3 separate regions of the Homo sapiens genome follow, and regions 2 and 3 are each linked to region 1. The links are contacts of gene promoters, found by promoter capture Hi-C in blood cells and fetal thymus (Javierre and others, 2016). All regions are on one chromosome and are shown on one strand. The core of a region is centred on a gene start or on the middle of the fragment in contact, and the rest is flanking DNA. Distances in the headings are between cores, read along the strand shown. Region 1 holds the start of SERPINC1 (serpin family C member 1). Region 2 overlaps PRDX6-AS1 (PRDX6 antisense RNA 1). Region 3 overlaps PRDX6-AS1 (PRDX6 antisense RNA 1).

Region 1 (4,280 bases), core at 911-3,410:
TATGTGCTCAATTCCCCACGCTGGGAGAAAAAAGAATGAGAAGCTTCCTGTTTGTGACATGGAATGTGCATGCCTAAAAAATCGGCTTTAGTGCCCAGTGAAGAGTCAGGGTGGTAGGGGGAGCCATCTACAGAAACTGTTTGGGGAAGGACTCTGATAGATGCAGCAGAGAGATTTCAGCAACACAAGAGAAGTAAGAAGAAATGGATGGAGCAAAGGCAATATCTGGCCGGGTGCGGTGGCTCACGCCTGTAATCCCAGCACTTTGGGAGGCTGAGGCATGCAGATCACTTGAGGTTGGGTGTTCGAGATCAGCCTGGACAACATGGTGAAACCCTGTCTCTACTAAAAATACAAAAATTAGCTGGGTGTGGTGGCGCACACCTGTAGTCCCAAGCTACTAGGGAGGCTGAGGCAGAAGAATCACTTGAACCCAGGAGGCGAAGGTTGCAGTGAGCTGAGATTGTGCCACTGCACTCCAACCTGGGTGACAAAGTGAGACTGTGTCTCAAAACAGCAACAACAAACAAACAAACAAACAAAAACAATGGCAATATCTGTGTGCTGAAGATTCCTACATCTCTAGCTCCAGCCCTAACCCTTCCACTGAGCTCCAGACTGACTATTTGCTGGACAGTTCCACCAGGAACTCCTACAAGTTCTTCAGGGAAACAGGACCAAACTGAACTGGTAATTAATTCTCCCCCACAGGCCTGCTCCTGTGAGTGGGCTCAGTGAATCCCGTACAGAAACCTGAGAATCACCCTGGATTCCTCCCTCTCTCCTCCTCATTTAGTCAAACCCCAGAGTCAATCAGTTCACCCCAGAGTCAATCAGTTCTGTTTTTTTACTCTTTCACCAGTTATTGCCACTGCTTTAGTTCAGGCTCTCATCCCTTTTTATTGCCTGGAATTTTTAATAGTCGCCAACATGGATTCAATGAAGGTAAATGAAGCTAATTTCACATTTTAAAAAAATGAGGTAGTTGGGACACTCGATGAAGCAAATCAAGAGATAAAGTCTCTTGTAATATTTTTTGTAGATAAGACAGGGTGGGGCAGGGGCTGCCTCCAGCTGGTTTATGGTTCCTGCGTGTACACAAGGGGGTCTGTGTGTGGGTACTGGATCTTCCCATCTTCTCCTGGGAGAGAAAGACAGGCACCCAGTGCAGATTCACGGACGTGGTCCGTTGGGCAAGCCTGGGGCTGGCTGGAAGCTGGGGCAGCTGAGGGGGACTTGCCTTCTTGCGTGGTCTGAGTCCAGTTCTGCAGCCCTTTCAAGAACAGAGGTGCAAAGCCGGAGAGAAGCAGCGGCACCAAGGGAGATGTGGAAGGCAGGCTGAAGAAGCAGAGAGAGAGAGGAGAGGACCCTGCCATTCATCTTCCCATCTCCACTGCCTTCGGTTGCCCACTCTGTCCTTCAACTACATTTGGAAATGCAATTTGAGGCTGAGAGGACCCTGGGAGGGCTATGAAGCACAAATTAAAACCAAGACAGTTGTGCCACCACCCCGTTTCTAGCCTCCTGTGACAACTCAGATGAAGAAGGGAGTGTGTGTGGCATTGAGGGAGGGACAACTCTCATTGTGAGAAAAGGAAGCAGTTTTGGCCCTTTAGTCAAAGGTCACTGGGATTTGGGTGGGGGTGGAGTGGGGTGGATCTGAGTGGAAGAAAGAGCAAAAAGGGAGTGAGGAGGTCCTCATGGGTAGCATTTGCTCTCTTCCCGGATGGATGGCAGGCCCTGGGGATTCCCCTTGGAGCGTCCCCTGGATCCCGTGAGTGCTGACTTCCTGCACAGCATCTTTACACCAGGGATGACATCCCCCTTGTTTCTTAGGCTAGGGACCCAAGGGGTAGCTTAGGAAAGGCCTTACCCCAAGAGGTGGGGTGGGAGGGAGAGCACTTGAAATGACGTCTTCCAAACAGGTCTTTGACTGTAACTACCAGGGAGAGGGCCTGGTCTTCTCAAAGGTGTTGGAGGTCATTCCTGTGAGTCCTTTGGAGGTCACAAAACCCAGTAGGGGCAGGCAAGGGGAAAGCTCACCCCTCTTACCTTTTTCCAGAGGTTACAGTTCCTATCACATTGGAATACATGGCCGCTAATCTTCCACAGGGCTGGGCAAGTGGAGATAGTGTGATCTGAGGCAATCCGCCTGAAAACTGGTTCTTTCCTCTAAATCTCGCAGAGGTTCCAGAGGACAGGGTGGGGCAGAGAGCTGGTCAGGAGGGGGAACTGAGGTCAAAGGCTGATGACCAGTTCCCAGGGTTAAGCAAAGTGTAGAGCCCAGTGTTGTTTAATTAGTAGAGAAGTTTTAAAGTTCAATCAGGCCCAGGGAAAGCCTGAGCCACCTCTCTTGCCCACACTCCCTCACTCTTCTCCTCAGCTTTATAGAAAAGGAAAAGGAGAGTATGTTCATACCCTCAAACTTGGTTAGGAAACTAACCAAGGAAACAAACTTGGTTCATACCCACCCTCTCTCATAGTTTTCTTTATGGAGAGAGGGAGAGAGAGAGAGAAATATCTAATTAGAGAAGGCAAAGAGGGACAAGCTGCTACCTTCAGGCATCTGAGTGCCAAGGTGTCCCTGGCACAGACAAGGAAAACACAATGGTTACACCTGTGGCCCACAGAGAGACCCATTCCCCAGCAGCCCTGAAGTGGTGGGACAGGGAGAGAAGAGCAGGGCCTCGGGGTGCATGCCAAGCGCGTTTCTAAGGGGTGTGAGCAGCTGGGAAATACTTAGCAAAACTCTACTGGGGGATCAGGAGACAGAATGCGGGGCAGGTGAAAAACCCACGTACAACTGCTGAAATAAAAACAAACTAAATTATATTTATGTGTATCGTTATTTTTATTAGTTATTGGGGAGATTGGGTAAATTCAAACTAGTGGAGATAAAGGGCAGGTTTGTTTACATTTCCCTCTTCTGAAATAGCCAAAAGCACCATCACAAGGACTGCAGCCACCAAGTTCACAGGGCGCATGTGCCTCCTGCTGTGTGATCAAGGACTCCTTGTAGTTGTTGTTGCAGTCATAGGCATTTTCGAGAGCTCTTCGTTCATGAGAGAGGACATCTCTCCTGAACTGAAGCTGTGTCTAAGTTCTTGGCTGATTCAGACCCTGGATCCTTTGAAGCCCTCCATGTGCAGTGTGAACAGTAGCCGAGAACTGTCCCAAAGGGCCCCAGAATGCCCAGAGGCTCATCTGTCACCCTAGATTAAAGACTATTGAAAAGTCTCCTGTTCAACCACTTGAGTTCAACAAATACACGAGTGCTGCTTGTGCCAGCAGACACTGTTCTTGGGGCTGGGATTCCATTCGGGGGAGACATACAGCAATCACATAAAGAATCAGTATTTTAGGCCAAGCGTGGTGGCTCACACCTGTAATCCCAGCACTTTGGTAGGCTGAGGCAGGTGGATCACCTGAGGTCAGGAGTTCGAGACCGGCCTAGCCAACCTGGTGAAACCCCATCTCTACTAAAAATACAAAAAATAGCTGGGCATGGTGGTGGGCACCTGTAATTCCAGCTACTCAGGAGGCTGAGGCAGGAGAATCACTTGACCCCAGGAGGCAGAGGTTGCAGTGAGCCGAGATCGTGCTATTGCACTCCAGCCTGGGTGACAGAGCAAGACTCCATCTCAAAAAAAAAAAATCAGTATTTAAAAAATAAATATGTAACGTGCCAGTCAGATGTTAATAAGGTCCATAGAGAAAACTATAGCAGGGCAAGGATATAGGAAGCAGTGGGAGGAAGTGGGGAGGGCACCATCTGAGAACACTTGGTAGGAAAGGCCTCCCTTAGGAATCATTGTTAGGAAACCAGAATGAAATGATGGAGGGGGCCATATGAATATCTTTAGGAAGAGCTGTCCAAAGAGAAATCAGAAATACAAAGACCTTGAGGTTTCAGGAACATGCTGTTGAGACCTATTGTTCCAGCTTATAGGAGTTATGAGGTTTGTGTCTTGCCAAGAAGGTCCTTGGGGGAGGGCAGATGAGGGGCCCTGCAAAAATATAGGTGATTTGGTGAACATCGCTGGAAAAGATTAGGATGCAGATACTACCAGGTCAAGGAATTAAGAACTATAACATCAGGGTTTGTGTTTAATTTGTTCATCCAGGCTGGATGCAGTGGCTCACATCTGTAATCCTAGCACTTTGGAAGGCCAAGGCTTGAGGCCAGGAGTTCAAGACCAACTGTGAGACCCCACACACGGTGAGACCCCCATCTCCAGAAAATAATAATAATAAGCTGGGCATGGTGGCATGAGCCTGTA
Region 2 (4,280 bases), core at 1,097-3,596, 500 kb before region 1:
AAGATCTCTGGTATCTCTTCCTCTTCTTACAAGGACACCAGATTAGGGCCCCACCTTCTATGACCTCATTTAACCGTTACCTTCTTGGAGGCCCTGTTTCCAAATACAGTCATACTGCAGGTTAAGTCAATAAATGAATTATTGGGGGACGCAATTCAATCTGTAACAAGTATTGTCTCAATATTGCAAACAAGAAACATGAGGTTAAAGTTCTTGTCCAAGATCTAGATAAAGCCTTGGCACTTTTCAGTCTGCTTATGGTTTTCAGTCTTTCTTATCAAATCTTGGAAATTCAAGCTTCAAAGTATGAAGTAGAAGAAAAGTATGGTGTATCATAGAGCAGTGAGAAATGAATGAACCTGAGATGAAGCCAGTGTGACTGTCTGCCAGTCAGCCCTGGAGCGAGGGGATGGAATAACCCAGATATATCCACTGGCTCCTCTCCAAGCTTCAGCCATGCCATGGCTGGCACATCACTGCCTCGTAGCAGCTTGGGTCCTGTGTTTGGGTCCTGACTCTCATATGACTTTGTGAGTGCTGGCAAAGACTCCCTCCTTGACCAAACTTTAGTCGGGTTCCCTGAAGCCTTCTTCTCAACTAGGCCTTGCCCTTGACCTGATGAGCCAAGTTTTAGCAATGAATCTTGTTAAGTCCATTTACTGAGATTCTCTCACCCTCAACATCCAATCAAGCTCCTCTTCCTCCACCTAATCAAGTTCCTGTTAGTAATTTTCCATCCACTCCCCCAGCGTGCTGATTGGCTGTAAATCCCCCCTTATCCCTGATGTATTTGGGTTTCAATCCTCTCACCTATTGCAATAATCTTGACCCTTACTGCAATAGCCTTGAATAAAGTGTTCGTTGCTGTTTTTCACAGATATCAGGATAATTTTTCTTTAACAGTTTATTAGGGGCAAGACCACGTCTCACATTTCTCCTTACATATCTCCCCAACACATAGTTGTGCCTCAGCTGGTGCACTGTCAAGAGGCAAGTGAGTGGGTGGGAGGATGGGTGACACCTGAAAGTCCCATGGCCTAGCTACAGAGAAAAGTCAAAGAGCACCTTGAAGCCTATGAAGAATGGACAGTGGGATGAGCCTTAGGAAAAGGAAGATAGAAGAGAATAAAGGGAAGAAAACAGAGGGTTCCTAGCAGCATGTCAGACTCAATCGGAACCACCCTTACACTATCAATTTGGGACACTCCAGGAGCAAAGGGCCCCAGTCTTGATGGCCTGAGGGCCCCAAGTCCAAGGGGCAGCACTTGGCAGAGGGACAAACACTGGATAATTATCCTGGCCCTGACTTTGGTGTTCTCAGCTCTGCGACGTTAGGCAAATCAGCTAACCTCTGTGACCCTCAGCCTTTCCATGCATGAAATGACAGTAACAATGGCTCCCTCACAGGTGCAAGTAAGAATGTAAGTGAAACAATTTGTTTTCTTTTTTAGTATGCTTGATATTTACTGAGAAGAATGCAAATGCTCTTTCTAACTGGTATTCAGGAGCTGGGTTGAGGGCCTGTTTTTGTTTGTCTGTTTTGTTCATAGTATTTTTGCCTAAATGTGCGTATCTGTGGGACTGATGAAATTATGAAAGAAAAATGACAGCTGTGCAAAACTGGTGCATGGAAGAAAAGGAATGTCATGATGTGGGACTGCCAGGTCCACCGGGCCTCTGCAGCAAACCGATGGGGCAGGGAGTAGGTTGGGAGCCAACCAGGCCAGAAGATTGGCTCCTTTGGGAGTTGGTGAGCTGTCCAAATCAATGCCCAGGGAGGTAGAGCCAACCCAGGCTCTCCTAGGTTGGTCCTTGTCTCTAAAGGCAGGGTCTGTCGGTGAGATGTGGTGGGTGGTGATAGTGTAGCTCTCTGGGCACATGTAGGCTAAGCAGTGGCAGCAGCTGGGCTGTGGGTGGTCTGCCCAATATGTCACAGATCTCTGGCCTACAGCTGGGGCTCAGAACATGGTCCAAATTTGCAAAGGAGACATCCTGGGCTGGCCTGAGTAGGCAGCAGCGTGGCTTAAAGCAAGTCCCCTGCCCAGAGGCAGGCAAATGGAGCATCTTCCTGAACAAAGACAAGCACTACAGAGGGATGACGGAGAGAACCAGAGGGCAGAGGAGAGGGAAGGGGACCAAAGGGGCACCTGTGGAGGGTGGGCAGTGGCAGCTTACAGGGCCCTCCCCAACAGGGCCCAAGGGTCTCCCAGCCCAGTAACAATATCTTCATTATCATCCTGGCCAAAACATTGCTTCCTTTCACTGAGGACATTATAAATGTTATTTTTTTATTTTTATTTATTTATTTATTTATTTATTTTTTGAGAGAGAGAGAGAAGATCTCACTCTGTTGCCCAGGCTGGAGTGCAGTGATGTCATTTTGGCTCACTGCAACCTCAGCCTCCTGAATTGCTGGGACCACAGATGTGCGCCAGCATGCCCGGCTAATTTTTGTATTTTTAGTAGAGACAGGGTTTCGCCATGTTGCCTAGGCTGATCTCAAACTCCTGGACTCAAGCGATCCACCCGCCTCGGCCTCCCAAAGTGCTGGGATTACAGTTGTGAGCCATTGTGGCCGGCCACAAATGTTATTTTTAAAGCACACACACATTCCTGGTGGAAGGTAAGTATCCTCAGCACCCATTTCCTGAAACGTCTTTTAATCATCACAATATGGAGATTGTATTATTATCTCTATTTTAAAGACAGGGCAGTATTTTCCTGGGGCAGTATTTCCCAAATTGTGTCCCACGGAATGCTAATAACAGTACTAAGAGGTAAGTGGTGCTCACTTTTGAAAATGCTCCTATAGCCAAATATTTTTGAGAAATAATGCAGAGGAATGGTGCATTTGTGAGCATAGACCCAGGAGTCAGAGACACCTCGGTTTGGGGCCGAGCCCCACTGATTATCAGCTTTGCGGGTGCAGCAATAATAATCCTAGCTTCCTTATCTGGGATGTGGGAATAATGAAATACCCGCTTCATAAGGTTCGTGTGAGGGTTGATGTTATGAGGTAACAAATGTAAAGCTCTTAGCACATAGCTGGTGCAAAAAAAGTCTTCAATAAACAAGAACTCTTATTGGCATTGTAGCAGGTTAAATATTGTTAACATCTTACAGCTAGACCTATAATTTTTTTAGGGAGAGATCAATTTTGTTTAGGAAAACATCTTAATAAACCACGTGGAAGCGTGGCCAGCAATGAGACTCTGAAGTTACAAGCCATCAATAACCAAGACCAAAACCTAGAAAACCAAGTTTGAAAAAGCCAGAGTCCCATAGAGGGTGAGTACTGATTTCTCTCATTGCCTGACATTATAACAAAGAGGTTCAGGGCACAAAGATGAGATCTCACCTCCGTCTTCACCTCCCTCTTTTTAGTACTACTCCATCCTTTACAGATTCACCTACACACACTCACACATGCACACACACCACTCCCTTTTCAGGAAGAAAGCTACAGGCTCCAGTTAATTAGAAATTCTACTATTTCAGCTTTATTACTTCCTCTTTACTCTCTGAACTTTAAAGGAACACATTTCTGTAAAGTTTAAATTATTTCAATGAGGTGTATTACCTTTTTAACTGGGGGTGGGAGGGAAGCACTTTTTTTTTCTTTTTTTTTTTTTTAATGTTGAAGACTCCACTCAGTCATTTGAGCTCCAGGAAGCCTTCCCTGGCCACCCATAAGTTAAGAGAAGAGCCCCTCTTCTGAGCTCCCAGAGCACCCACTTCATACCTATGCTATAGAACACACCGCCAAGGACGGAAATTATCCAAAGGTTTGTGTCCATTGATTGCCATGCCAGGCATCCAGCTCTGCTGAAGCACGCAGGGGCCCTGACTTCCTCATTAGGTATTCTCAACACCTCCACCAGCAGCTGGTAGGCAGCAGAGCTATTGTTACTGAGCTGCCCACGGCACCAATGGATCTATGAATGAACCTGAACGTCTTCCCTGGAGAAAAGCACTTGCTTGTCAAGGGAGGAACAGGGGTCTGAAATGCTAACCCCTGCCCTATAGTATGGGTGTGCATACGGTGCACCTTCCAAAGCCCAGAGTGGCATTCTTATTACATCCCGGAAACCCCCTGGTCAGGGGCTTTTGGGGTGACATCCAATATGTAAATACCAGGGTCGGGTCCTGCTGAGTGGCATAACAGTGCCATATGTGAAAGTTCCACCAGCAGCAGAGGGCTCTTTCATTAGTCATTTCACTGCACACAGCTGTAAGGAATCTGGCGAAGCTTGATTTGGCTGGGAGGAGTGCATTTTCCA
Region 3 (4,280 bases), core at 975-3,474, 480 kb before region 1:
CACCTATGAGCTGGCCCATGAAAACAGGACAGGGGCAACCAATGGAAGGCTGAGGGGACTGCTGCAACTCTCAGCTTCGTGGTCACTCATGACCATATCTGATAGTCCTGATCCTATCTTGCTGGTAAGCAGTAAAGCCAAGTCTTTTGGACAATGGCATCAAAAACCCCTATATAGATGGACCCAGAAAGTGATGGGAGACAGGCTTTACCTACTAGAGATACTCATCAATAGATATGACCCAGAGAGCTGGAAAAGAACAAAAGGAGCAAATAAGAACATTCTAAAACTTACTAAATAACTGAGCTATTTATTAGTTTACGCTCTGGACTGAATTGTGTCCTCCCAAAGTTCATGTGTTGCACTCCTAACCCCCAGTGTGGCTGTATTTGGTGTAAGGATGTAACTGATGTTAAATGGGATCATAAAGGTAGACCCCAATGAAATAGGATTAGTGTCCTTATAAGAGGAGACACCAGCGAGCTTACTCTCTCTCCCTGCCGCATGAGCACACATCTACAAGGCAGGAAGGAGCCCTCACTAGGAACTAACTGGCCAATACCTTGATCTTGAACCTGTCAGCATCCAAACCTGTGAAAAAATAAATTTCTATTTCTGTTGTTTAAAACACCTTGTCTATGGTATTTTGTTATGGCAGCCCAAGCCAACTAATACAGTATGCAATCAATTTAAAATTTCTTATTAACAGCTATATTCAATAAAAGTTAATCTACCTCTGAGGAAAGTTTTTTAAAGATTAATAGTTGCTTATGAAAGAAAAACTGTAGTCAATTATTTGTTGCATCCTACCTTTAATATAATGAGACATAAAAGCTTTACCCATGAATGTCATTTAGTGTCCTTTCCTCATTTTCAAAGTAGTTTATTGTTTAGAAAACAGAAAAGAAAACCTAGTACACATCCATAGCTATTTCTCAGGAAACATTCTCAGAAGTAGAATTACTAAGTTAAAGACTATGCATATTTTAAAGCTACTTGATAAATATTTCCCAAGTATCCACCAAAAAGGTTGAACCAATTTACACTCCACAAAGGAGCAGAGAAGAACATCTATTTCCATGTACTCATGCCACCTCTGAATTTCATTTTAAATTTTATGTCTTAGTTTGTTATCTCCCAGAAGCAGACACTGAGACAAGGATTCAAGTGCAGGCAGTTTATCTGAGTAATACAGAAATACAGAGGGATGGATATGGGTAAGAAGTAACCAGAAGCGAAGGCAGCCAATAAAGGGTGCATTACTAAGCCACCTATCACAGTGGGCAACTGGAACTTAATCTTGCAGAGAAACTCTGGGAAATAATACAAAATGCCCCAGCATTATCCCACCTAAAGGGCTAAGGTCTTACATGACAACTCCAAAAGTCATTAAGTGAGGGCTACCATTTTGTTTTGTTTTGTTTTGAGACGGAGTCTTACTCTGTCACCTAGGCTGGAGTGCAGTGGCATGATCTTGGCTCACTGCAACCTCTCCCTCCCGGGTTCAAGCAACTCTCCTGCCTCAGCCTCCTGTGTAGCTGGGATTACAGGCACCTGCCACCACACCTGGCTAATTTTTGTATTTTTAGTAGAGGTGGGGTTTCACCATCTTGGCCAGGCTGGTCTTGAATTCCTGACCTCATGATCCACCTGCCTTGTCCTCCCAAAGTGCTGGGATTACAGGTGTGAGCCACTGCCAAGTGAGGGCTACTTAAGGAAAAGGGCACAGGGCCTTCAGCATTTTTTTTTAAGCCCTCAGGCATGGAGTTGCAAATACTGCCCTTAGAAATCTAATGGGGAGCGCTGAAATGTCCAGAAATGTGTCCCAGCGCTGATGGCATCTGGTACACTTTGTCAACTTGATAGGGATAAAATGATAGGTTTCTGTGTAGTGAAGAATTAACTTAGGGCTTTTGGCTACCGGGAGGTGATCTCTAGGCCCCTGGAATGCCCAGCGTGTTATGAGTATCTTTGTTGGCCTGAGGGCTTTGGCCACCAGTCTAGAGATGTGATTTATGGTGAGGGCTTTGACCCTCTGGACATCAAAGGCTCAGGTGAGCATCACTGGTTGGCAGTATTCTGTATGTATTGTCACACATCGTAACCAGGAGGTAACACAATCCATGACTCTGTAGAGAGAGGAAGATGGGAAGCCCTGTGCATGGACCCCTCCAGGCTCTGCCCTATGTCGCTTCCCTCTGCTGATTTTATTATCTGTGTCCTTTTGCTATAATAAAATTGTAAGCATAATAAAACTGCTTTCCTGAGTACTGTGTGTCATTCTTGTGAATTACCCAACCTGAGGGTGGCCAGACAAGGTCTCTCGGCTTTTTCTTTTTTAAGTACTTTAACTTTGTTAATTTTTTTGTTGTAAATAGCTTATTATTAATTATTTGCTTATTAATTTAGTTTGTAGCTTTAAGTTATTATATAACCAGTTCTATCAGTCTTTTCCTTTACAGCTTTTCTGTACTTACAAAGGTCTTTCTCACTACAAAATTATATAGGCATTCATCTTTATTTTCAAGTTTTTTAGTGTCCTTCTCCCACATTTAACTAATTCCATTTGGAATTTGTTTTCTTGTACTCTTTTAGGTAAAAATCTATTGTTACTTTTTCCCAAACTGATTCTCAATTGACCCAAAACCACCTTTTGCCTCACTGTATTTTTCTTCATTTTTATCACATGCTAAATTCCCACATACACTAGGGTTCATATGTGGTCACTCTATTCTGTTCCATCTATATACAGTCCATCACTCTTGTCTTCAGATTCTGTGGGTTTATAATACATATTAATATCCCATTGCAAACATTTTTCCTACTTATTGTTCCTATTCAAAATATTCTTAGTTTTCTTATTCTTCCATCATAAAATTTTCTGCACCCCAAGAAAATGTTTTACTCAGAACATAAAAGAAAAATTAAAATCACATCATCAATTCCCATCACACCTGCCCCTCCCCAATAAAATCCCACTAGAATTTTTTATTGGAATTGCACTAAACTTAAATATTAATTTGGGAAAATTTGTATACCTACAAAACTGAATCTTTCCATTCAGAAACATGGTATGTCCCCCAGTAAAAACAAATACATTTTTATCCTAGTACTTCTATTTCTTTAATTAAACCCTGACTAAATTAGAGAGTATCTAGGTAGAAGACTCACATTGTCCACCAAAGTCTACCATGGGTTAATTTTGTTTCAAAAACATTAAAACCTATACAACATGAAAAAAATAAATAAATACATTTTATAAATTGTTTTAAGTTGGCATCCTTCATACAGGTCTAGCAAGTTTCTTGTTAACTTCAAGGAAATAGCATTTTTATGGCTCTTAATACACACTGCTCCAGGAAATTTCCACTTCCACCAGCATCATATAAGACTGAATGGGTCCCCCTGAAAATTTGAGCTGATTAAAAAGTATCTCACTGTAGATTTAAAGTGTACTTCTTTGACCACATATATTTATCAGCTGATTGTATTTTTTTCTTTGTGAACTGTATCTTTTGCTTATTTTCTATACTTCGACTTACCAAGTAGAAGTATTTTTCTCAATAGGTCATTTGCCTCTTAATTTTATTATATTTTCTGATATATAGAATTAAAAAGCTTTCCATACTGGCAAATCTCTTCTTTGTGGTTTCTTCAGTGGCATTTATGCTTAGTGAGTCTTACAATTCAAAGATCATGTAATATTTGTGTATATTTTCTTCTATTTATTTATATGTTCTACTTGTTTTATATCTCATGCTTAAGGTCTGAAGAAAGCTGAAAGATCAGTCTTATCCAAGCTCATGTGTAACACAGACTGAGTAAAAGTCCAAGGTCATCTGCCTCCAAGTTCAGAGCTCTTTGCACAACTTTCATTTAGCATGTATCTTCATGTACCCACCATGTGGCAAATAAATGAGGCTTCAGAGAGTAACATAAAGCACAACCCTCATCTAAAGAAGTTAAATAATTGCACCTATAAAACAATCTGAGACTGCCCCACCCCATCAATACAAGCTGAGTGAGTGACAAGCTACGTGCAGAGAGAGAGGAGAGCTCTGTATGCCAACGGCCAGAAGCTGTCATGGAAGGTAGATCTGAGTTCTGCAGATCCAGTCCTGGAGGAGTAGATTGAGTTCACTGTATCCCAGCTGAGCATATCTCTTCAACTTTCACTGATGAAGACATTTCAGAACAAAGAGCTTCTTTCCTAATCAACCACACAATGTACATGCAAATGTCTTACATTGTTACAGTCAGCAGAACTCCTCGCTCCAATT

The links. The method cuts DNA at HindIII sites, captures the fragments that hold promoters and counts their contacts. A CHiCAGO score of 5 or more calls a contact.
Region 2: a contact is called between a fragment that was not itself captured here and the fragment with the promoter of SERPINC1 in region 1, in 2 of 17 cell types (erythroblasts and endothelial precursors). The highest score is 6.0, in erythroblasts.
Region 3: a fragment that was not itself captured here is called in contact with the fragment with the promoter of SERPINC1 in region 1 in 2 of 17 cell types (endothelial precursors and megakaryocytes); the score reaches 6.3 in endothelial precursors.

The regions. Positions count from the first base shown.
Region 1 is chr1:173,915,167-173,919,446 of GRCh38, forward strand. SERPINC1 (serpin family C member 1) reads right to left here and starts at 2,161. Exons shown (of 7, transcript NM_000488.4): 1 at 2,053-2,161. The coding sequence starts at 2,093. LOC124904457 (a long non-coding RNA gene) reads left to right here and starts at 1,334. Exons shown (of 2, transcript XR_007066739.1): 1 at 1,334-1,774. The HindIII fragment of the contact is 6,307 bases long and covers 42-4,280 here.
Region 2 is chr1:173,414,316-173,418,595 of GRCh38, forward strand. It overlaps PRDX6-AS1 (PRDX6 antisense RNA 1), which reads right to left. Exons shown (of 2, transcript NR_125960.1): 2 at 3,474-4,280. All of the region lies in intron 2 of LOC100506023 (a long non-coding RNA gene), which reads right to left. It also overlaps a transcript of TNFSF4 not described here. Among named protein-coding and RNA genes, the nearest start is that of PRDX6-AS1, 45 kb to the right of the region's middle. RefSeq lists enhancers at 119-278, 339-388, 1,849-1,978, 2,009-2,058, 3,867-4,206. The HindIII fragment of the contact is 3,801 bases long and covers 447-4,247 here.
Region 3 is chr1:173,435,003-173,439,282 of GRCh38, forward strand. All of the region lies in intron 1 of PRDX6-AS1 (PRDX6 antisense RNA 1), which reads right to left. All of the region lies in intron 2 of LOC100506023 (a long non-coding RNA gene), which reads right to left. It also overlaps a transcript of TNFSF4 not described here. Among named protein-coding and RNA genes, the nearest start is that of PRDX6-AS1, 24 kb to the right of the region's middle. The HindIII fragment of the contact is 2,784 bases long and covers 833-3,616 here.